Regions from separate parts of the Homo sapiens genome. Here all the other regions are linked to region 3. The links are contacts of gene promoters, found by promoter capture Hi-C in blood cells and fetal thymus (Javierre and others, 2016). All regions are on one chromosome and are shown on one strand. The core of a region is centred on a gene start or on the middle of the fragment in contact, and the rest is flanking DNA. Distances in the headings are between cores, read along the strand shown. Region 1 overlaps OR52E5 (olfactory receptor family 52 subfamily E member 5). Region 2 holds the start of OR56B4 (olfactory receptor family 56 subfamily B member 4). Region 3 holds the start of TRIM6 (tripartite motif containing 6).

Evidence for each region. The method cuts DNA at HindIII sites, captures the fragments that hold promoters and counts their contacts. A CHiCAGO score of 5 or more calls a contact.
Region 1: a fragment that was not itself captured here is called in contact with the fragment with the promoter of TRIM6 in region 3 in 1 of 17 cell types (megakaryocytes); the score reaches 7.6 in megakaryocytes.
Region 2: the fragment with the promoter of OR56B4 here is called in contact with the fragment with the promoter of TRIM6 in region 3 in 2 of 17 cell types (neutrophils and total CD8 T cells); the score reaches 8.8 in neutrophils.

Annotation. Positions count from the first base shown.
Region 1 is chr11:5,900,407-5,903,962 of GRCh38, forward strand. It overlaps OR52E5 (olfactory receptor family 52 subfamily E member 5), which reads left to right. Exons shown (of 3, transcript NM_001005166.5): 3 at 226-2,324. The coding sequence starts at 371. The coding sequence ends at 1,354. The region is part of intron 2 of LOC112268071 (a long non-coding RNA gene); the gene reads right to left. It also overlaps the pseudogene OR52Q1P. Among named protein-coding and RNA genes, the nearest start is that of OR52E5, 9.0 kb to the left of the region's middle. The HindIII fragment of the contact is 580 bases long and covers 1,298-1,877 here.
Region 2 is chr11:6,105,759-6,109,188 of GRCh38, forward strand. It overlaps OR56B4 (olfactory receptor family 56 subfamily B member 4), which reads left to right and starts at 1,926. Exons shown (of 1, transcript NM_001005181.2): 1 at 1,926-3,077. The coding sequence starts at 2,021. The coding sequence ends at 2,980. The region is part of intron 2 of LOC124902622 (a long non-coding RNA gene); the gene reads right to left. The HindIII fragment of the contact is 4,106 bases long and covers 1-2,451 here.
Region 3 is chr11:5,595,269-5,598,652 of GRCh38, forward strand. It overlaps TRIM6 (tripartite motif containing 6), which reads left to right and starts at 1,369. Exons shown (of 8, transcript NM_001003818.3): 1 at 1,369-1,646. The coding sequence starts at 1,630. TRIM6-TRIM34 (TRIM6-TRIM34 readthrough) reads left to right here and starts at 1,369. Exons shown (of 14, transcript NM_001003819.4): 1 at 1,369-1,646. The coding sequence starts at 1,630. It also overlaps a transcript of TRIM5 not described here. RefSeq lists enhancers at 691-985, 1,140-2,057, 1,304-1,353. The HindIII fragment of the contact is 2,426 bases long and covers 60-2,485 here.

The DNA of each region.
Region 1 (3,556 bases), core at 338-2,837, 310 kb after region 3:
ACCTTGGCTACTCTTTACATCCTGATTAACAAGTATAATTAGCAATAAATATATGCTAATTTAATGCCATATGGAAGTTTTTTCTTAGAGACTGAAGGGAGGAAAGACATGGGAAGTGCAGGATTGCTATATTTTGGAAACTTTCTGCATGGTTTCCTGTGTAAGTGAGGCAAATATTTAAAAGTGAGAGTGTCTTTTTAACTATATTTCATATTCCCTCTCTAGGTCTCTTATGCTATATTATGGAGTTAAAGAATGGATTTTCTGTTTCCCCAAGAAATAGACACCATGCTGTGAAAGAAGTTATGGTTTCTCACTGGAAGCAAGAAAACTCATGCAAGAAATGTGTCTGTAGGGAATGGCCACCAATATGCTTCATACCAACAATACACAGTTTCACCCTTCCACCTTCCTCGTAGTGGGGGTCCCAGGGCTGGAAGATGTGCATGTATGGATTGGCTTCCCCTTCTTTGCAGTGTATCTAACAGCCCTTCTAGGGAACATCATTATCCTGTTTGTGATACAGACTGAACAGAGCCTCCACCAACCCATGTTTTACTTCCTAGCCATGTTGGCCGGCACTGATCTGGGCTTGTCTACAGCAACCATCCCCAAGATGCTGGGAATTTTCTGGTTTAATCTTGGAGAGATTGCATTTGGTGCCTGCATCACACAGATGTATACCATTCATATATGCACTGGCCTGGAGTCTGTGGTACTGACAGTCACGGGCATAGATCGCTATATTGCCATCTGCAACCCCCTGAGATATAGCATGATCCTTACCAACAAGGTAATAGCCATTCTGGGCATAGTCATCATTGTCAGGACTTTGGTATTTGTGACTCCATTCACATTTCTCATCCTGAGATTGCCTTTCTGTGGTGTCCGGATTATCCCTCATACCTATTGTGAACACATGGGCTTGGCAAAGTTAGCTTGTGCCAGTATTAATGTTATATATGGATTGATTGCCTTCTCAGTGGGATACATTGACATTTCTGTGATTGGATTTTCCTATGTCCAGATCCTCCGAGCTGTCTTCCATCTCCCAGCCTGGGATGCCCGGCCTAAGGCACTCAGCACATGTGGCTCTCACGTCTGTGTTATGTTGGCTTTCTACCTGCCAGCCCTCTTTTCCTTCATGACACACCGCTTTGGCCACAACATCCCTCATTACATCCACATTCTTCTGGCCAATCTGTATGTGGTTTTTCCCCCTGCTCTTAACTCTGTTATCTATGGGGTCAAAACAAAACAGATACGAGAGCAGGTACTTAGGATACTCAACCCTAAAAGCTTTTGGCATTTTGACCCCAAGAGGATCTTCCACAACAATTCAGTTAGACAATAATGAGATCATAACAAAATAAACACTGGAAACATTTTTTTTACTACTTCTCTTGCATTCCCACATGAGCCAATAGCATTATATCCCCTACAACGTCTCATGATTTCAGTACGGTCTGTTGGAAGTTATAGCTCAAAGATTCCAAAACAATCTCTCTGTTTCACCCATTAAAAGTGCAAAAAGTACTCACACTTAAGCCCCATGATACTACAAAATGCCTAAAGAGAAACAAAGGCTTTGTAAAAGTTATTGCCCAGTAATTGTCTTGAATAGCCTTTCCACATGAAGATTCTCTGTATTTACATATCCAAAGCTGAAGTTCATGACGATTAAAATGATGTGGTATTTCATCAAAACCAGGCAGGATACAGTGGCAAGAGAAATTAACTAGGAGTCATAAGATCTAGATTTAAATACAGGTTATGGCCTTACCTAAAATTTTGACCTGAGCATTTCACTTAGACTCTTTGAGTTCACAATAACAAATTCATACTGATTTATAGCATTTTATGAGCAGGGATATTGAAGCTTAAAGTGAATGTTGTGAAAATCTGTGCAGCTTGTAAAACATTAAAAGATTTGGAAACAAAATGAGTGCTTACTAAACATAATTATAGTGTAATTGTTATTTCTAATGTATGTAGATTTCATTTACTAATCCACTCTAGTATACAATCCCTGGTTTGAGGTCAGCTCTCCAGATCCAGATTATCCCAACGCATGGGCCTCTTCATGGACCTCTCAGCTCTTACCTTCGTGAAAGAGACTTTCAGTCAGGAGACTATAAAGCTTGAAGAGTTAACAGGTTTCTGTCTTGGGCTTAAGGACTCAGGGAAATCCCATCCTCCACAGTCTTTGCTAGAGTGGGTTTTAGGGCAGACTGTAATAGTGTGGCTGCTGAAATAATATAAAGTCATTCTTAATAAGGTATAGAAGATAAATAGGACAATTTATTTCTTTGGGTATTCTAGGAGCTGCAAAAATGTGAAGTTGGCTCCTAATTGGAAATGGAGCCCTGATTGAAACTCAAGGTAGAATGAGCAGAAATGTACAGAGAATAGTGCGAAAGTAATAACAATATAAATAACAGTATAAATTGACAAGTGGAAGTAAACTGAAGTGATATGTCATATAAATATATAAAGAAAAAGTAACCAAGTAATCATTTTCTAAGTAGATATTTTGAAATTGATACAGAATTTAAAAAAAACTAAACAGATCATTTAACAAGGAATAAAGATGACAAAAAATTCATTGTGGAGTGTCTTCTAAGTAAAATACCACTTTTCAATTATAGTTTATTTAATGTATTATTATATAATATTTCAACTACGAAAATCTCATTTTAGAGCCTGAATATTTACATTTGTATATTTAAAGGCTCTAATATGTTCAATTTTGTTCACTCTACCCAAAATATGTTAAACCACCAGACCACTTAATTTTGGTATCATACGTTAAGAACTTCGACTAAGAGTTTTCCTGTATCATTTCTGAGACTTTGCTAAATGTCACGTGCTCCAGAAAGTGAGTAATCTGAATGGAAATGGGTAACAGAGAACTTTAATTTCTAAGGAGCATAGAAGCTAATACAGAAGAGAAAACCCCATTCATTACCAAGTATATGTTCCAGGGGCTGTAACATGGGAGCCAGGAGCATATTTGAAAACAGCACAGTGTGCACATAGAATTCCCAAGAAAGGAAAGTTGTTTAGGGAGTTTATCAAGCTCTAGAGTTTTTTTTTTTTTTAACTGAATTTGTACAAAGCCATCAATACTGCAAGTCTTGGAGCAGGTCGGCTGAGCTATGCCAAATGCTATGGTAAACACTGAATATTGGTCATCTTGGCTGAGTCCATGTCTGTGAAACATTGGCATGCTTCAAGCCAATCTAAAAGAATTCAACTTTGTTTATTATTTCAAAATTTCAAGGCTGCTGAAAGGTAGGTCTTTATACACAGTCACTTTATTTGCTAGCTGAGTATTTTCATCGGGGGCAACTGATGAAAATGTTGACTTCCACTAACCTAAGCCTGTCCGTTGTTACTATCGTATCTTCCAGTTCAACGTCAGGGAAATAGTTTTTGGTGCTTTCCTTGTTTATATACAGATGTTTATGACTTATCTATGCACTGGCCTGGAATCTGGGGTACTGATAATCCTGGCCATAGACCACTATGTCGTAATTCGCAATCCACTGAGATA
Region 2 (3,430 bases), core at 676-3,175, 510 kb after region 3:
GAACTGGAGGTTATTGTGTTAAGTGAAATAAATCAAGTAGAGAAAGACAAATATTACATGTTCCTACACATGTTTGGGAGCTTAAAAAGTGGATCTCAGCTGGGCACGGTGGCTCACGCCTGTAATCCCAGCACTTTGGGAGGCCAAGGCAGGCAGATCACCTGAGGTCAGGAGTTTGAGACCAGCCTCGCCAACATGGTGAAACCCCATCTCTACTAAAAATACAAAAATTAGCCGGGTGTGGTGGCACACACCTGTAATCCCAGCTACTCGGGAGGCTGAGGCAGGAGAATCGCTTGAACCTGGGAGGTGGAGTTTGCAGTGAGCCGGAAAAAGAAAAAAAGTGGATCTCACAGAAGTAATGAATAGAATGGTGGTTACCAGAGGCCGGAAAGGGTGGGGGTAGGGGAAGAATAGAGGGTGGCTGATGGGGACAAAAATACAGTTAGGTGGAAGAAATAAGTTCTAGTATTCAATAGCACAGTAGGAAAATTATAGTTAATAATTTACTGTATGTTTCAAAATCGCTAAAAGAGAATTGCAATGTTCCTAACACAAAGAAAAGATAAATGCTTGAGGTGATGGATATCCTAATTACACTGATTCGATCATTACACATTGTATACATGTATCAAAATATCACATGTACCTCCAAAATATCTACAAATATGATATATCAATTCTAAAAATACAAAAAAAAATCATTAAACTATAGGGCATCTAGGTGGTAGAAAATAATGCAACTTAACTGCAGTATGGAAATATGGAGCAGTCTTCAAAATATTAAGTTAAAAAAGAAAAGGAAAGAAAAAAGGAGAAAGGTGTGCTAACAATTGATTATGTCTTTTATGAAAATTATATATATATATATATATATATATATATGTTTTTATCCATGCATAAACTATTAATGGAAGGATTCCCAAGAAACATATTACTGGCTGCCTCTAGTGAAAAGGAAAAAGATTTCAAAGCCCCAAGCATGAGAGTCTTACTTTTCATTGTTTATATTTTTCATTTTATTTTGATTTTTACCATGTATAGATAATATATCTTAAAATAAAATCAAAATTATATTTAAAATTTTAAGACTATTATATCCTTTGTATATATAATTTTTGCATCACTTTTGAAACTCTACTCAAGGAAAACAATATTAAAAGCAAAATACCTGTCAGTAAATTATAGAATAGCCAAATGCAAAAATTTAAAGCAGCAATTAAAATTAACATCACACTTTTTAAATAATATTGTGAAGTCTTTGGTTAATGTATTCATCCATGAAATAAAATTTTTGAGTGCTTATATTACATCTTAACACATACTGCTAAAAGACAAAAACAAGATACAAAATCATCTCTAGATAATGATGTAGACTGTTTAAAAATAAAATAGAAAATTGGAAATAAATCAAATACTAACATTTGTTATCTGTTAGTGATAAGACTGTTGTTAATATATGTGGACATGCTTATTAGACATACAAGTGGTGATGAAAAATAGTTATTCCAACTCTTCTGTTTAGAATTTTTTTGCTTTTTTTGTTATTCCTCTGTGGAATATTTCCAGAAGTCAAATAAAGTTGAGGGTCATTCATGAATAAAAGGAGCTGGTTCATTATTGAGGAGCTCTTACCAAGACACTTAACTTTTTGTTTTGTTTTGTTTTTTAAGACAGGGTCTCACTCTGTTGTCCAGGCTGGGGTGCAGTGGCACAATCTCGGCTCACGGCAACCTCCGCCTCCCAGGTTCAATGATTCTCATGCCTCAGCCTCCCAAGTAGCTGGGATTACAGACAGGCACCACCACACCCAGCTAATTTTTGTATTCTCCGCAGAGATGAGATTTTGCCATGTTAGCCAGGTCAGTCTCGAGCTCCTGACCTCAAATTATCTGCCTGTCTCAGCCTCCCAAAGTGCTGGGATTACAGGCATGAACCACGATGCTCAGCCCCTTAGCTGAACTTTTAAACAGAGATTTCTTCTATTTCAGACAGACACTGAGACTGAGGCACCCATTCCATGGATACCTCCACCAGTGTTACCTATGACTCCAGCCTCCAGATTTCCCAGTTCATCCTGATGGGATTACCAGGCATTCATGAGTGGCAGCACTGGCTCTCCCTGCCCCTGACTCTGCTCTACCTCTTAGCTCTTGGTGCCAATCTCCTCATCATAATCACCATTCAACATGAGACCGTGCTACATGAACCCATGTACCATTTGCTGGGCATATTAGCAGTGGTGGACATTGGCCTGGCCACCACCATCATGCCCAAGATCCTGGCCATCTTCTGGTTTGATGCCAAGGCCATTAGCCTCCCCATGTGTTTTGCTCAGATCTATGCCATCCACTGCTTCTTCTGCATAGAGTCAGGCATCTTTCTCTGCATGGCAGTAGACAGATACATAGCCATCTGTCGCCCTCTTCAGTACCCCTCCATAGTCACTAAAGCTTTTGTCTTCAAAGCCACAGGGTTCATCATGCTCAGGAATGGCCTGTTGACCATCCCAGTGCCTATACTGGCTGCCCAGAGACACTACTGTTCCAGGAATGAAATCGAGCACTGCCTCTGCTCTAACTTGGGGGTTATCAGCCTGGCTTGTGATGACATCACTGTGAACAAATTTTACCAACTGATGCTAGCATGGGTCTTGGTTGGGAGTGATATGGCTCTGGTATTTTCTTCCTATGCTGTAATCCTTCACTCTGTGCTGAGGCTGAACTCAGCAGAAGCAATGTCCAAGGCTCTGAGCACTTGTAGCTCCCACCTCATCCTCATCCTCTTCCACACAGGTATCATTGTGCTGTCTGTCACACACCTTGCAGAGAAAAAGATTCCCCTTATTCCTGTGTTCCTTAATGTGCTGCACAATGTCATCCCCCCTGCACTCAACCCCCTGGCCTGTGCACTCAGGATGCACAAACTCAGACTGGGCTTTCAGAGACTGCTTGGACTGGGTCAGGACGTGTCCAAGTAACTCCAGCTTTAGGAATCCAGTAAGATGTTAGGAAATGACAGAGGTTTTAGTTCTCAATAGATCAGGGTTATAATCTGCACTTACCACACTCCCTAGGAAAAAAATGGCCAATAAAATCATGAAAACTGTCAGCCTCACTAATCAAAATATGTATATTAAAATTACAAGAAAATTTCCTATTACCTGGAAAATAAGTAAGAACAAAAAAGTGAAATGTTTCTAACTATTACTGCTAGCCTACCCCGAGATTAACACTTTCCTACACAACTGGTAGGACTATAAACACACCAAAAAGCAATTTGGTAAAATTTATCAAAATGTTTATAAATGTTTAAATGTTCTTAACCAGTAATTCTATTTTAGAAAAATATCCAAAAGAAATAGTCTAAATGCAGTCAAAAAGTTATTCATAAAAATCATTATAATATGACTAATAATAGAAAACAAAGC
Region 3 (3,384 bases), core at 119-2,618:
TTTCTTCTCAGAGTTTCTGTGCTATTGAAACCCTGTAGTTAGAGTTCTGAGGCTCAATAAGCTTTACATGTATTCATCAGACCTAAATAAAAACAAAGATTGTCTTCTAGTTATATAGGTCAAAATTACAGATACACACACACAGCTTTATACATACATACGTGTAATTTTAAACTGATGAATTTTAATGATCGTTTGGCAAAACATGCCATTATGCAAAGGGGCTTTTACTCGTATAACTTTATATGTTTATTTAGACATTTTAATTAATACGTCTATATGGAGTACAGGTGTATTATCAGTGTAATTAAACTCTGATATGATATTAGAAAGCTACAGTACACTGCAGACAATTTACAAGGGTCATCTCTGGCCTGGTGTTCTCAAAGGCCTCCGGATTTGCCGTTCATCAGGTAAGATGAACAGCTTTGCGTTGCTACCTTCAAAAATTCTTTTTTTTTTTTTTTGAGAGAGAGTCTCGCTCTGTCTCCAGGCTGGAGTGCAACCTCCACCTCCCGGGTTCAAGCGATTCTCCTGCCTCAGCCTCCCGAGTAGCTAGGACCACAGGCGCGCCCAGCTAATTTCTGTATTTTTAGTAGAGACAGGGTTTCATCATGTTGGCCGGGATGGTCTCAATCTCCTGACCTCGTTATCCGCCCGCCTCGGCCTCCCAAAGTGCTGGGATTACAGGGGTGAACCACCGCGCCTGGCCTCAGAAACCATCTCCATCTCCCTTACCACCTGAGGGGTCACTGGTGACCACACCCATGGAATCGGCTGGATCTCCTGCGGGGCTGGACAATTTGACCCTCCTCCTCCCCAGGCCCCGCCCCTTCCCCCCTGAGTCTTTCGGCCTGGGTGGAGGACGCGGCTGCTTCAAGTCCTTGGCTCTGATCCAGGCCACAGATTCCAGGTTAGTGAGCAAGTTTATTTTCTGGCCAGCTACCGCTGTCCCCACTTGTCTGGAGAGTTTGACCCGCTCTGCAGGTCGGGTTGGGGGTGGTTCACGGGTGAAAGAAGAATGAGGGAGACTTCTGCATTTTCAAGTGAACTCAAGTTTGGGAAGGGAGCACAGAAGAGGCACCTTTGCAGCTGGGAATAGGCCGTGTAAAGAGAGTTAAACCTCTATTCTACAAGCTGAAGTATGTAGAGGAGGCAGCTCTGGAAACTGCTTTAGGGAATCACTGCAAACCATTTTGTCAGGCGTGGATTCAGAGTCAGCATCCCTTCCCCCCTTCCCCCGTTCTCCCCTTCCCCCCTTCCCCCTTCCCCCTTCCCCCTTCCCCCTTCCCCTCCCCCATCTCCAGCCTGGCCGCTCCAGGAAGTGAGCACCGTTTATCCCCCACCCCAGGCGGCCCGACTCCTCCCAGAAGGAGTTGGGAGATGAGCCTTCCGCAAACTCCTGACCTGTGGGTCCGTCCGTTCAACGGCCAAAGGCTGGCGGAGGAGGGATCCCCTGCCTTTCTCGGAACGGAACGGAGCAGAGTCGTGCGTGGTTGAGTTTAGATAAAAGCCGAGTGAGCGCGCTCTGTTCCTTAAGATTAGTTTAAGGTGCCTTGGATTGCTCTGAAGAGCTTTGACCACCTGATATTGCTTACATCTGGAACTTCTTGGCTTCTCATTCCCCAGATGTGCGGGTCAGAGAGGTATGTCTACCGTTCTGTTGACTGGCTCTTATTGTCACTTCTGGCAGAGGTGACAGGGCAGTGAAAGAGATAAGGTCCTTTCCCTTTCGGAACTCATTATATCTTTATTTCTTTTTCTTTCTCACTGCAAATGACCCCACTGAGGTTAGAGACATTTTAATCAGTCAGTCAATAGAGACAGAAATGTGTGGTTAGGAGCATAGATGCCGCAGCCAGACTGCATGTGTTCAAATCCTGACTCTGACAGACACTGGCTGTGTGCCCGAAGACTGTTAACTTGACTTCTTTGAGCTTTAGTTTCTTCCATCTATAAGATGGACGGAGTAATATGTATATCTTAGAGTTTTGGTGAGGATTGAGTGAGACAGATTTAAACACGTAGGAGGCTGCCTGACACAAATTATGGTCATTATTACTGGCAAACTCCATGCCTAGCTTTAAAAAAATGCACAATCAAAACAATTTTTAAATTATAGGTTTCTGAAATGCAGGGGGTAGAAATTCTTTTGAAGTGGAAATTAAATTTTTTGTTTTGAAACTGATTATGTTCCAATTCAAATATTTATTGAGTCCTGTTAGATAATCAATTGCAGATAATAGGTTAAATATAACCCTACACAAAGATAAAAAAAAATGTTATTCCTAAAGTGCAAGAACTCATGCCCAACTCACTTATAAATGCAACTGCCACCTATTTTATTCCACTTTCACTAGGGCTCCCAGCTGGTGGACGGGCCCGCTCTGTCATTCCTAACTCTGAACCCCCAGCCTACACCAGCCCCAGTATCCCCTGCTGAGTCACTGATTTTTATTCTGAAAGCCATTTTGATATCGATGCAAGCTTCCATTCTAAAAGATGCTTCGTATCTAAATAGCAGGCCATTCTCTGTCCCCCTCCCTCTTCTAGCTGTTTTGCACCCTAAATTGTATCCACCTGGGAAAGAAGGTCCTTTATCTAAGGCAGTGCTTCTGAAGCCTTAATGTGCGTAAGAATCACCTAGAGAACTTTAATATTAAAGTGCAGATTCTGAATCATTCCAGGAAAGACTGAGATTCTGCATAAAGAACTCCAAGTGCTTGCAGTGTTGCTAGTTAGCAGACCTTTTTCAGGCGTCTGGTTCTGATTTAATTGGTCCCACCTGGTTGTGAATTTGGGCTCTTTCTTCTGCTAATTTGATGCACTGGGCTCTGGGACTGCAGGCTCTTCTCGTCTGCACTCCTCACAGTCAGAATGCCTTCTCTCAGCCCGTCCACACTGCTCTGGAGACTTGGCCTCAGTTGGAAACTGGCAGCCTCCCATATCTCCCTTGGGCTGCACTTAGCTGCAGTGGGCAGTCAGGGCTTGCTGGTGTGTGGGCAAGGGTCACCTATGCTAACTGTATGCTCCCCTCCTTCACAATTTCTTTCCCAAGCCTCAGCTTTGACAAGAGACCTCAACTCTTACAAATCTTTTTTCTGCTCAAGAATTTTTCTCTGTCTAAAGAGAGTATTAGATGAATATCTACAGCGCATATTAGATAGGAAAAAGACATATAATGAACTAGAAATAGAATGAAGCCACATATGTAATGTTACATACTCAAGTAGCCTCATTAAAAATAAGCGGGTGAAATTAATTTTAATACATTTCATTTAACCCAATACATGCAAAATACAATTAGGACATGTGATCAACATAAAAAAATTAATAAGATCCTTTAACTTTTTTAAACTAAATCTTCAAAATCCAATGTGTATT